4 separate regions of the Homo sapiens genome follow, and regions 2, 3 and 4 are each linked to region 1. The links are contacts of gene promoters, found by promoter capture Hi-C in blood cells and fetal thymus (Javierre and others, 2016). All regions are on one chromosome and are shown on one strand. Each heading gives the region's core, a stretch centred on a gene start or on the middle of the fragment in contact. The rest is flanking DNA. Distances are from core to core; before and after follow the strand shown.

Region 1 (3,109 bases), core at 401-2,900:
TTTAAGCTCATAAATACAAACATGCATACATACATAAATTAAGAGATAATTTTTTTAAAGAGGGTATAAGCATGGCTTAAACACAACTAATTTGCACTTCTTTGGACAAATACCATTGCATTAGTATCAGTTTTCTATGCCTTTCAGAGTGATAAGATACTGTGGCTCAAAGACAATGGAAAGTAACCCAGAAGACTAGACAGAATACTCAGTAATCTTTTTGTTTGTTTGTTTGTTTGCCTCCCATCAAAATCTTTCACAATTTTTTGCAGATAAATTCAAAATAAAACAAGATCTTTATACCCTCTCAAATTGCAAAGAATGTTTAAATTACTAAAGCCTACTATTGGGCTTCATGATATTAAAAAATTAATAGCAATCTAAAGGGCCATCAAATGAGTAGTTAAATAAATTTTAATGTAATACATTCATGTTCTACAATACAATAGAATCCTTTAAACTCATGTTTTCAAAGAGTATGACACAAGAAGTGCTAACAAAGTGTTAAATGAAAAAAGCAGGCTTAATACTGCTTAGTGAATTTGTTCTTAATTTTAAGAAAAAACACATAAAATGAAAAATACTGATGGGAAAAAGTATAACTCAATTGTGGATATTTGCTTAGTGTTTTTTTTTTTTTTTTTTTGCTGGAGTGCAGTGGTGCAATCATAGCTCACTGCAGCCTCAGTGGGTTCAAGTGATCCTCTCACTCAGCCTCTTAAGTAGCTGGGACTACAGGTGTGCACCACCATGCCTGGCTACATTTTGTTGTTGTTGTTTATTTTCGTAGAGACGAGGTCTCACTTTGTTGCCCAGGGTGGTCTCAAACTTCTGGGGCCTAAGCTATCCTCCAGTCTCAGCCTCCCAAAGTGCTGGTATTATAGGTGTGAGCCACTGTGCCTAGCCTGGATATTTGTATATTTGTGAAATTATGAGATATTTTATTTTCTTTTCTTTTTAACTCTTTCCTTTCTTCTCGCCTTTTATGGCATCTCCTCCTCCCTTGCGACCCTCTTTCTTTGAAGATCCTTTTTACTGAGACAGGGTCTCACTGTCACCCAGGCTGGAGTGCAGTGGCACAGTCTTGGCTCCCTGCAGTCTTGACCTCCCTGGCTCAAGCGATCCTCCCACCTCAGCCTCCCAAAGTGCTGAGATTACATGTGTGAGCCACTGCACCCAGCCTGAAGATCCTTCTATTTGCCAAATCTTAGGATACGGAACAAACAGATACTGACCCATGTGGCAGCCAGTCAAGTGGGGAGTGTGGGGACAAATCATCCTTTATTTTCGTTTCTTCCACCACTGGGCTTGGGACTGCCTGGAGCGGGCAGTTCTGACTGAGCTGAGGGAACTCTTAAAATCCTGCATTTTAATGAAGAAATCCCAGTTGTCCACTGGAGGCCGAGAGCCGGCCAGCTCCCTGTTGTACTGTTGTTTTATGGTTTACCTGGGCCAGACCAGGGGGCATAGTCTGTCGGGTGTCTCTTCTTCTACAGAACCTAAAGGAGCTGGTGCTGGAGGCGGTGGTGGTGGCTTTGGTGGAGGCGGCGGATTTGGCGGAGGAGGTGGTGGCGGAGGCGGTGGAAGTTTTGGAGGGGGCGGACCTCCAGGTCTGGGAGGATTGTTCCAGGCTGGAATGCCGAAGCTGAGATCCACGGCCAACAGGGATAATGGTAAGGAGAGTTTCCCTGTCTCTGAGTGACTGAAGACAAGGCAGAGTTTGGCAGTTTGGAGGCTGGTCATAGCCTCTAAGGCTCTTCGCCCTTATTAAAATATTGTACATTGTTTTAAATATTACCACTGTTTTATAAGAGACTCAATTTAGGCTTTATTATTATTATTAACCAGGATCAGACAGCTACACAGAACTATGAAATTTTCACCCAGTGTCTTTGGGGGTAACCTGTACATTTTTTTTTTTTTACTTTTCTAAAGGGTTAGCTGGAGTGGGAAGAAAAGGGAGGAGCAAATAGAACTTGCTGGCCCTGGAAATCTGCCTGGTGACCTGACAGATTCAGCTTTCTTTGTGAGGTAGCCCAGCTGTCTAGTAGAGTAAATACTTGTGAGCCGCTTTTCAAACACGATGGAGCACATCTTGTGGAATATGATTACAAATCTCACTAAATCTGAAAAAGTGTTTTGCATGACAGATATTTGGTATTTCAGTGCCAGTGGTTCTCAGGAGTCTCTGCAGGGAGCCATGGACATGAGTCCTTCAGGATTGTCTATGAACCTGATGGTAGAAAAAAACTGAACTTGCTCATGAATGCCTAGATAAAAAACTTTGCAGAGGGCATGAGGCTCTCTCCCAGCTACTACAGAAACTCAAGAAATTTTACCATAAAACTGCTTTTGTAATGTTGATCATGTTATAATAATTTTCATTTTTAGACCTTTTATAAGATGTCCCCTGGGAAAGAATGAAACTCTCACATTTACATGAATATGGAATCACTGAATCCTCAGGGTTAGCCTACTATTTTATCACTGAATGGTCCAAATCTAGAGAGAAACTCAGTCACATGAGAGGTTCTATCTTGCCAGACCACCATTTAAATTTGAATTTAAATTTATTTAAAACTCACCAAAAGGATTTAAGGCAGCTGATAAATGTATACATTTAGTACTTTAACAACAGGTGAAGAAATTAAGGCAAAAGACAAAGAAAAATAAAATAATAAAATGGGCCAGGCATGGTGGCTCACACCTATAATTCCAGCACTTTCACAGGTCAAGGCAGGCAGATGGCTGAAGCCCAAAAATTCAAGAACAGCCTGGGCAACATGGCAAAATCCTGTCTCTACTAAAAAAAAACAAAAAGTTAGTGGGCATGGTGGCTCTTGCCTGTAGTCGCAGCTACCCAGGAGGCGGAGGTGGGAGGATTGCCTGAGCCCAGGAAGTTGAAGCTGCAATGAGCCGTGATTGCACCACTGCACTCCAGCCTGGGCAACAGAGGAGGCACTGTCTCAAAAAAAAAAAAAAAAAGAAGAAGAAAGTTCTCTCTTAAGTTCATGATACTCCACTGTATACATCTGTCCAAATGCTTCTTCCTGTGCCTTAGATAAAATCGGAACCCCTTCTGTCCTGCAGGGCTCCTTGTGACTAACCC
Region 2 (3,109 bases), core at 182-2,681, 130 kb after region 1:
TGTAAAAAAAATGTTTTTCTTTGCTTTTGCTCCCATATATAGAATGGAGCTAAGGTAGAAAAACAAAGGCTTCCTGTGAAAAGTCCCTCACCTCTATTTTTGGCCAGAAAAGAGTCATGCCTGTGACTTGTGTTTGTATCCATATGTGAACAAAACATGGCATATAATACTTTTATGGTTCCTCAAAGGTGTTTCCTAAGGCAAAGTTTTTTTCAACTTTTACTTTAGATTCAGTGGGTACGTGTGCAGTTTTGCTACCTGGGTATATTATGTGATGCTGAGGTTTGGGGTACAAACAAATGATCCCATCACCCAGGTACTAAGCATAGTACCCAGTAGTTTTTTAGCCCTTGCCCTCTCCCTCCTTTCCACCTCTCGTAGTCCCCAGTTTCCATCATTACCATCTTTATGTCCATGAGTATCTGATGTTTAGTTCCCACTTATAAGTGAGCACATGCAGCACTTGGTTTTCTGTTTCTGTGTTAATTCACTTAGGATTATGGCCTCCAGATGCATCCGTGTTGCTGCAAAGGACATTATTTCATTCTTTTTTTTTTTTTTTCAAGACAGGATCTGGTTCTGCCACCCAGGCTGGAGTGCACAGCTCACTGCAACTGTTGCCTTCTAGGCTCAAGCCATCATCCCACCTCAGCCTACCAAGTAGCCAGGACTACGGACGTGTGCAACCACGCCTGGCTAATTTTTGTTTTGTTTTGTTTTTGAGATGGAGTCTCGCTCTGTCGTCCAGGCTGGAGTGCAGTGGCACGATCTTGGCTCACTGCAACCTCCGCCTCCCAGGTTCAAGCAATTCTCCTGTCTCAGCCTCCCGAGTAGCTGGGACTACAGGCACCTGCCACCATGCCCGGCTAATTTTTATATTTTTAGTAGAGACGGGATTTCACCATATTGGTCAGGCTGGTGTCAAACTCCTGACCTCAGGTGATCTGCCCACCTCAGCCTCCCAAAGTGCTAGGATTACAGGCGTGAGCCACCGCATCCGGACTTGTTTAGTTTTTTAGAGACAGGGTTTCGCCATGTTGCCCAGGCTGGTCTCGAACTCCTGAGCTCAAGCGATCTGCCCGCCTTGTCCTCCCAAAGTTCTGGGACTACAGGCATGAGCCACTGTGCCTGGCCTATTTCATTCTTTTTATGGCTACATAGTATTCCATGGTATATATGTAGCACATTTTCTTTATCCAGTCCACCATCGATGGGCACCTAGTTTGATTCCATGCTTTGCTGTTGTGAGTAGTGCTGTGATGAACATGCAAGTGCATGAGTCTTTTGGTAGAACCATTTTTTTTCTTTTGGATATGTACCCAGTAATGGGATTGCTGGGTCATATGGTAGTCCTGTTCTAAGTTCTTTGAGAAATCTCCAGGCTGCTTTCCACAGTGACTGAACTAATTTACATTCCCACCAATGGTATAAAGCATTCCCTTTTCTCTACAGCCTCACCAGCATCTGTTGTTTATTGATTTTTTAATAATAGCCCTTCTGACTGATGCAAGACGGTATCTCATTGTGGTTTTGATTTCTCTGATGATTAGTGATGTGCAGCATTTTTTCATGTTTGTTGGCCGCTTGTATGTCTTCTTTGAGAAGTGTCTGTTCATGTCTTTTGTGCATTTTTTAATGGAGTTATTTGTGTTTTGTTTGTTCAATTGTTTAAGTTCCTTATAGATTCTGGATATTAGGCCTTGTTAGATGCATAGTGTGCGAATATTTTCTCCCATTCTGTAGGTTGTCTGTCTACTCTGTTCATAGTTTCTTCTGCTATGCAGAAGCTCTTTAGTTTAATTAGGTCCCACTTGTCAATTTTTGGTTTTGTTTTTGTTTTTACCTTAAAACTTCCCAGTAGGCCGGGCGCGGTGGCTCACGCCTGTAATCCCAGCACTTTGGGAGGCCGAGGCGGGTGGATCATGAGGTCAGGAGATCGAGACCATCCTGGCTAACAAGGTGAAACCCCGTCTCTACTAAAAATACAAAAAATTAGCCGGGCGCAGTGGCGGGTGCCTGTAGTCCCAGCTACTCGGGAGGCTGAGGCAGGAGAATGGCGTGAACCCGGGAAGCGGAGCTTGCAGTGAGCCGAGATTGCGCCACTGCAGTCCGCAGTCCGGCCTGGGCGACAGAGCGAGACTCCGTCTCAAAAAAAAAAAAAAAAAACAAAAAACAAAAAACAAAAAACTTCCCAGTATAGTGTTTTTGTTACAATTGCTTTTGAGGACTGAGTCATAAATTCTTCCCAAAGGTCGATGTCCAGAATGGTGTTTCCTAGGTTTTCTTCTAGGATTCTTATAGTTTGAGGCATTACTTTTTTTTGAGACACAGTCTTGCTCTGTTGCCCATGCTGGAGTGCCATGGCACGATGTTGGCTCACTGTAACCTCTGCTCCCAGGTTCAAGCAATTCCCTTGCCTCAGCCTCCCAAATAGCTGGGATTACAGGCGGCCGCCACCATGCCTGGCTAATTTTTGTATTTTTAGTAGAGACAGGGTTTCACCATGTTGGCCAGGCTGGTCTTGAACTCCTGACCTCAAGTGATCCGCCCATCTCAGCCTCCCAAATTGCTAGGATTACAGGCGTGAGCCACCGTGCCTGGCTGAGACATTACATTTAAATCTTAGTCCATCTTGAGTTAATTTTTGTATATGGTGAAAGGCAGGGGTTAAGGCAAATTGTAAACTCTTTAATGAGAGGTTAAGAGATAATAATAATTTGTTTCACAGTTAGCCAAAATAGGGTATTCATGACTAATATGTAGATTTATCAGTGATAAAACTTGAGTTATTAATTCGGCCTTTAAAATTATATGTATATAATTTTAATATATACAATATAAAAATAAAAATATATATTATATACTTTTTCAACCTTTGTCCCCCTTCCTCCCTCCTCACCTCTAGTAGTCCCCAGTTCCTATTGTTGCCATCTTTATGTCCATGAGTATCTGATATTTAGCTCCCACTTATAAGTAAGCACATGCAGTACTTGGTTTTCTGTTCCTGTGTTAATTCACTTAGGATATATATAATATCTAATATATATTATATATTTAATATATAATTTATATATGTAAATTATAAATATAATTAAATATAAAATTTTTA
Region 3 (3,109 bases), core at 338-2,837, 94 kb after region 1:
AAGGTATATTGGTGGGAGGTCGTCATTTTTTTCTCTCTCTCATGTTCTACCAAAAGTTATATTTAACTTCCGTTAAGTAATTACTCTGTTCCAGATGTGATTATAAAGACTTCAGTGGAATAATCGCAAGTTCCCATGTGGTAGGTATTACTATTATTGCCATTTTACAGGTGAAGAAGGTGAGACACAGAAAAGTTAAAGTTAATTCGTTCAGGTCGGGCACAGTGGCTCATGCCTGTAATCCCAGCACTGTGGGATGCTGAGGCAGGCAGATCACCTGAGGTCAGGAGTTCAAAACCAGCCTAAGCAACATGTCGCTACAAAAATACAAAAATTAGCCGGGCGTGGTGGCACACGAATCGCTTGAACCCAGGAGACAGAGGTTGCACTGAGCTGAGATTGCACCACTGCACTCCAGCCTGGGAGACAGAGCAAGACCCTGTCTTTAGAAAAAAAAGTTATTGGTTTAAAGTTGATTAGTAGTGCTCTACTATACCCTTCTTCCCATCCTATATTCAAATATGACCACGGGCTGGAAAGGACTCTGGTCCCTGGGTGACTCCTCAATGTAGCCTTGAGAACTTCTGAAATTTCCAGAGAATTTGGATGCATGGGGACATTCAGCGGAGACTATGTGTGCCCGATGCCCTTATCCACCAGGCGGAGCTCAATTGATGGAGAGAATCACTGGAGAGAACCACAGGGCATCACTGCAGCTCTAATATTTGCGGATCTTATTTTACTCATGTCTAATACTGAGTATAGAACTTAGCAACATAAATATTTTGAGCTGACCTGCCTTTGAGAGTGAAGCGATTATTGTTAGCAACCCCCCACTTTTTTTTCCATTGTATTTTCCCTGATGGTATGTATATTTATTTGGCCATTGAATAAGTAAATAAATCTAGGGGTATGTATATTTATTTGGCCATTTAATAAGTAAACAAATCTAGGTTTGCCAGTGTATTATTTCAACTAGAATTCTTGTTGATGGCCATACTGAATCTTTCTTCCTTTCTTTCCAGAGATCTGGTTGGAGTTGGAGGGTGAGAGAAAATGAATTCTAATTTACCTGCAGAGAACTTAACCATTGCAGTCAATATGACCAAGACTTTGCCTACAGCAGTAACGCATGGATTTAATTCCACTAATGACCCACCTTCAATGTCAATTACAAGGCTTTTTCCAGCCTTACTGGAATGCTTTGGCATTGTCCTTTGTGGCTACATAGCAGGAAGGGCCAATGTCATAACATCAACCCAGGCCAAAGGACTAGGAAATTTTGTCTCCAGATTTGCACTTCCAGCTTTATTATTCAAAAACATGGTTGTACTTAATTTTTCCAATGTGGACTGGTCCTTCCTATATAGTATCTTAATTGCCAAAGCTTCTGTATTTTTCATTGTATGTGTATTAACCTTATTGGTTGCCAGTCCTGATAGTCGATTTAGCAAAGCTGGACTATTCCCTATTTTTGCTACACAAAGTAATGACTTTGCATTGGGATACCCTATAGGTAAGTTAATTTTTATTTTTCAAGTGTTTAAAAAATTCAATTTTAATTTATTTAGGCATTTGTTAGTAACAGATTCTTACTCTCATATCTAAGAAGTTTTTCATTTTTTTCTCAAATATGTCTTAGGATGAATCATAGTTTTTCCTAAACTTCAGAGTTTGAGGATCCTTTAAACATCTACCTAAAATAAACGGTCATATTCTAATAACCACTGTGAACAGTCCTAATTGTATTTTTTTCTTCCCGGTAAGCACATATGAAAGAAGCTTAATTTTTAGAAAGGATCCAATTGTGATTTAAATTATGTTAAAAAAGTAGATTTATGTCTATATAAAAATAGTTATTATTAAGTGTTTGTGAAAGGAATTTATTTTTCCTACCATCTAGAATATGTATTATTTTATATCAGAAATTGTTCTGGGGCCAGATGTGGCTCACACCTATAATCCCAGCACTTTGGGAGGCCGAGGGGGGCAGATCACTTGAGCCTAGGAGTTCGAGACCAGCCTGGGCAACAGGGTGAAACCTCGTCTGTATAAAAAAATAACAACAACAAAAAATTAGTCAGCTGTGGTGGCACAAGGCTGTAGTCCCAGCTACCCAAGAGGCTGAGGCAGGAGGATTGCTTGAGCCCAGGAGGCAGAGGTTGCAGTGGGTCAATATTATACCACTGTACTCCAGCCTGGGTGACAGAGTGAGACCCTGTCTCAAATTTAAAAAAAAAAATTGTTTTTGAGCTTGTTATTCAAAATTTTAATGTATTTTAGTTGCAGTTAATTTCTTGTTTAAGAAAAAAAATGGTGAGAGCTTTTTTACCTTTCTAACTTTTCCTTTTTTATGTTTCTGACTCTTTCAGCAGCCTAATTTTATGTTTCTATGTGTATATGTTTTACTAATGAAACAGTAAACGTACCAGTTTGGGATATTGACATATCTTGAAAGGAAACATTCTATATTTCAGAACACTCTGTCACCAAGAAAATGTATATTTTAAATTACTTTTTTATATTTTAAATTAAAGTTATATATACTTTGATCATCTATCAAGTATGAGGACTTGAATATTATAGATATATTCATTCATTCATTCATTCACTCACTCATAAGGAACTGTTTCGTACCAGTGGCTGTGCTGACTGTTGGGATTATAGCTGTGAACAAAGTTATTGCACATATTAAATTTACATTGTAATGGGAGAATAATAAAATTAAAATCATGTCAGGTGGTGACAAGGGCCATAAAAATAAAGTCACGTAGAAGGATAGGAATGTGGAGGTGCTATTTGAGGTAGGGTGGTCAATGAAGGCCTCTCTGATGATATGTCTTCTGAGCAGAGACTTGAGCCTATTGAAGGATACAATTGAAATCTACAATTAACTTTCAAGTTTCTTACCTAGCAGTTTTATCCTTTCCCCTCAAACCCCAACTTATTTCACTGCTGGTACCAAAAAGATTCTATTTAACTATACTTTTCACTTCTGTCTCTACTTTTGACTTTCCTCTATCTTGTTACCAGAAAGAGAGAAACACCTAAGAAGTTAAATAACTGTCAGTAAAGCTGGAGGTTTAAGAGACAGGAAAAACTGGGCTCA
Region 4 (3,109 bases), core at 156-2,655, 77 kb after region 1:
GGGTTCAGGAGATTCTCCTGCCTCAGCCTCCCCAGTAGCTGGGATTACAGGCAGGTGCCACCACGCCCAGCTAATTTTTGTATTTTTAGTAGAGGCGGGGTTTCACCACGTAGGCCAGACTGGTCCCAAACTCTTGAAGTCAGGTGATCCACCCGCCTCGGCCTCCCAAAGAGCTACTATTACAGGCATGAGCCACCGCACCCAGCCAGAAGTAACACTTCTTATAGTGGACAGCAGGGAAGTCGGTTGCTGGTGAGGAGGGGAATCATCCCTCGAACCCACCAAACTATCAGAGTCACTTGGTGGGAGGAAAATAGGTCTTCCTACAAAGGATGGGCCTACTCAGCCCAGGGTAGCCTAACACAGGTCACACCTTTGAAAACAGATGATTTCGTATCTATGGAAATGCCTCCTTTGCTAGAGGACTGTCATCAAGACCATTTGAGTATGTGGAGCTCTCATAATGGTTTGGCTTTACCAGTACAAGCAATAGTCTCCACCAGGTAACAGCGGGTCAGGTAAGGCTAGAAGCTTACTCGTATCAGCTTGAGGTGATATTAGGGATCACGAAGTCCCTCTGATTCTGAGTGTACAAGTGAGCCAAGTCAATAATAGAGCAGCACCACTGGGGCAGGCAGAAGACAGGAGGTGATAGATATTCACAGAGCGGCACAAGGGCTGGAGCCCAAAGTGCAACAACCAGTTCCAAAGTTGAGCCAAGGACCTAAGGGAGCAGGTGGACATGGGAGGCTGGAGCCATAGCAGGGTTCAGCTGTGTGGGACACCTAGGAACTGTATCCAAGGATTTCTTTCTTATATTATTTTTAATTTTTTTTAATTTAATTTTTTTTGGAGACAGACCATCACTCTGTCACCCAGACTGGAGTGCAGTGGTGCAATCATAGCTTGCTGCAGCCTCAAACTGCTGGGCTCAAGTGATCCTCCCACTTCAGCCTCCTGAGTAGCTAGGACTACAGGAGTGTACCACCAAAGAGTTCTGTCTTTGAGATGACTTTGTTTTTTGGAGACAAGGCTTCACTGTGTCTTCCATGCTGATCCTGAACGCCTGGCCTCAAATGATCCTCCTGCCTTAGCCTCTTGAGTTACTGGGATTACAGGAATGAAACACCTCACCTCACTCTGAGTGGTTGGCTACTTATTAGCCATGACATGGGACTGTGAAGTGACTTTTCTTCAAGGGCATCTTCAAGGTCCTGCTAGATATTTGACAAATATATGATAAGCATATCTGTGCTAGACATTTGACAAACATGTGATAAGTTTATCCACAACATGGCTACTGGCCATTAGACCACACATACTGCATTTGCTCACTCTTCTCAAGGTTTAAGGCCTCATCTCTTCAGTATCTCTGGAGGGTTGGCTTTAAGATAATTTATATTTCCATTAGCTGATACTGCTCTTACTGCTCTGCTACCTTTTCTTTTTTTGAGACAGAGTCTCGCTCTGTCACCCAGGCTGGAGTGCAGTGGCATGGTCTTGGCTCACTGCAACCTCCACCTTCCAGGTTCAAGTGATTCTTCTGTCTCAGCCTCCCAAGTAGCTGGGATTACAGGCATGTGCTACCATGCCCAGCTAATTTTTGTATTTTTAGTAGAGACAGGGTTTCACCATGTTGGCCAGGCTGGTCTAGAACTCCTGACCTCAAGTAATCCACCTGCCTTGGCCTTCCAAAGTGAGTTACAGGTGTGAGCCACCGCACCTGGCCCTTTTTTTTTTTTTTTAAATAAATAGAGACAGGGTCTCAGTGTGTTGCCAAGGCTGGTCTCAAACTCCTGGGCTCAAGCAATCCTCCCACCTTGGCCTCCAAAGTGCTAGGATTACAGGTGCAAGCCACCACACCCAGCCATCTGCTATCTTCTTTTACCACATTTTATAAATTTTAAAATCTCTTTGAACACTCCTATTTCACTTTATTCTACATTGAGAGTTTTTTGATCCAGACTCTAGCAGGAGCTGCAGAAGTATTATTCTCTGTGGGACAGAAACTTTGTACATTCTGGATCTAGAGTGGGGCTCTAATAACAGATGAGAATTGAAAAATGATACAAAGAAAAACAATTTTACAAAACATTTAGCTTTTAGAAGAAAACGTAGGTAAATATCATTATGACCTTGATGCAAGGAAGGATTTCTTTAAAAGATACCAAATGCACAAACTATAAAGGAAAAGATTATTAAAAAGCCAAATTTTAGAAAATAACATCTCTGAAGAAAGATAAGAGGAATTATAATTGTTTCTCAAAAACCAAAGCTTTAAGAGATGGTGAAAAGACTACACTGGGGTTTTACTACATAATCGACAACACATTCAATGTATTGGCTTAGTTATTGAATGTGTCAGAATATTACCTCACCTAGTTTTACCTATAATGTGAACTTTCTAACTGGGGTTTGGAAATGACATCATAGTGAAGACATGGTGTATATGTACAAGGAATGAAGACAGCCAACTGGTTTGTTTTGTTTTTCTTCACAAAGAGCAAATCAAAAGAAATGGGTTTCACATGAGGAACAATGTCATAGGAAAACAGTTACTGAAATGGATTTCTAATGGAAAATGCCAGACTCAATGTGCCCTTTTTTAATGATGAAAACATATTTCTCCCAATGAGCACTGAGACCATAGAAAAATTTTTTTGCCCTCCTCTAAGATAAATATTCCTACTTACTCTTAAGACAGACTTACAGGCTGGCCATGGTGGGTTACACCTATAATCCCAACACTTTGGGAGGCCAAGGCAAGAGGACTGCTTGAAGTCAGGAGTTTAAGACCGGTCTGGTCACCATAGCCAGACGCTGTCTCTACAAAAAAAAAATTAGCTGGGTGTGGTGGCGCACACCTAGCTACTCCGAGGCTGAGGCGAGAGGACTACTTGAGCCCAGGAATTTGGAACTGCAGTGAGCTATGATCACACTACTGCACTCCAGCCTGGGTGACAAAGCAAGACCTCGTCTCTTAAAAAAAAAAGACATAATTTCTGGTTTATTCCCTAAATCAGAAGCTCTTAACTAGGAATTTGCAATAGAATAATCTGCAGAATCTGGCGGAAAAAATACAGGCCTTGGACCTGATTCCTGTGGCATT

The links. The method cuts DNA at HindIII sites, captures the fragments that hold promoters and counts their contacts. A CHiCAGO score of 5 or more calls a contact.
Region 2: a fragment that was not itself captured here is called in contact with the fragment with the promoter of WIPF1-AS1 in region 1 in 1 of 17 cell types (non-activated CD4 T cells); the score reaches 5.4 in non-activated CD4 T cells.
Region 3: a fragment that was not itself captured here is called in contact with the fragment with the promoter of WIPF1-AS1 in region 1 in 8 of 17 cell types (non-activated CD4 T cells, activated CD4 T cells, naive CD4 T cells and 5 more); the score reaches 9.5 in non-activated CD4 T cells.
Region 4: a fragment that was not itself captured here is called in contact with the fragment with the promoter of WIPF1-AS1 in region 1 in 3 of 17 cell types (activated CD4 T cells, non-activated CD4 T cells and total CD4 T cells); the score reaches 6.1 in activated CD4 T cells.

Annotation. Positions count from the first base shown.
Region 1 is chr2:174,573,768-174,576,876 of GRCh38, reverse strand. WIPF1-AS1 (WIPF1 and CHRNA1 antisense RNA 1) reads right to left here and starts at 1,650. Exons shown (of 2, transcript NR_199010.1): 1 at 1,448-1,650. It overlaps WIPF1 (WAS/WASL interacting protein family member 1), which reads left to right. Exons shown (of 8, transcript NM_001375834.1): 4 at 1,497-1,673. The HindIII fragment of the contact is 9,595 bases long and covers 1-3,109 here.
Region 2 is chr2:174,447,588-174,450,696 of GRCh38, reverse strand. All of the region lies in intron 11 of GPR155 (G protein-coupled receptor 155), which reads left to right. Among named protein-coding and RNA genes, the nearest start is that of GPR155, 38 kb to the left of the region's middle. The HindIII fragment of the contact is 7,677 bases long and covers 1-3,109 here.
Region 3 is chr2:174,479,904-174,483,012 of GRCh38, reverse strand. GPR155 (G protein-coupled receptor 155) reads left to right here. Exons shown (of 16, transcript NM_152529.7): 2 at 1,026-1,516. The coding sequence starts at 1,057. Among named protein-coding and RNA genes, the nearest start is that of GPR155, 5.6 kb to the left of the region's middle. The HindIII fragment of the contact is 395 bases long and covers 1,390-1,784 here.
Region 4 is chr2:174,496,303-174,499,411 of GRCh38, reverse strand. No RefSeq gene overlaps it. Among named protein-coding and RNA genes, the nearest start is that of GPR155-DT, 10 kb to the right of the region's middle. The HindIII fragment of the contact is 1,744 bases long and covers 534-2,277 here.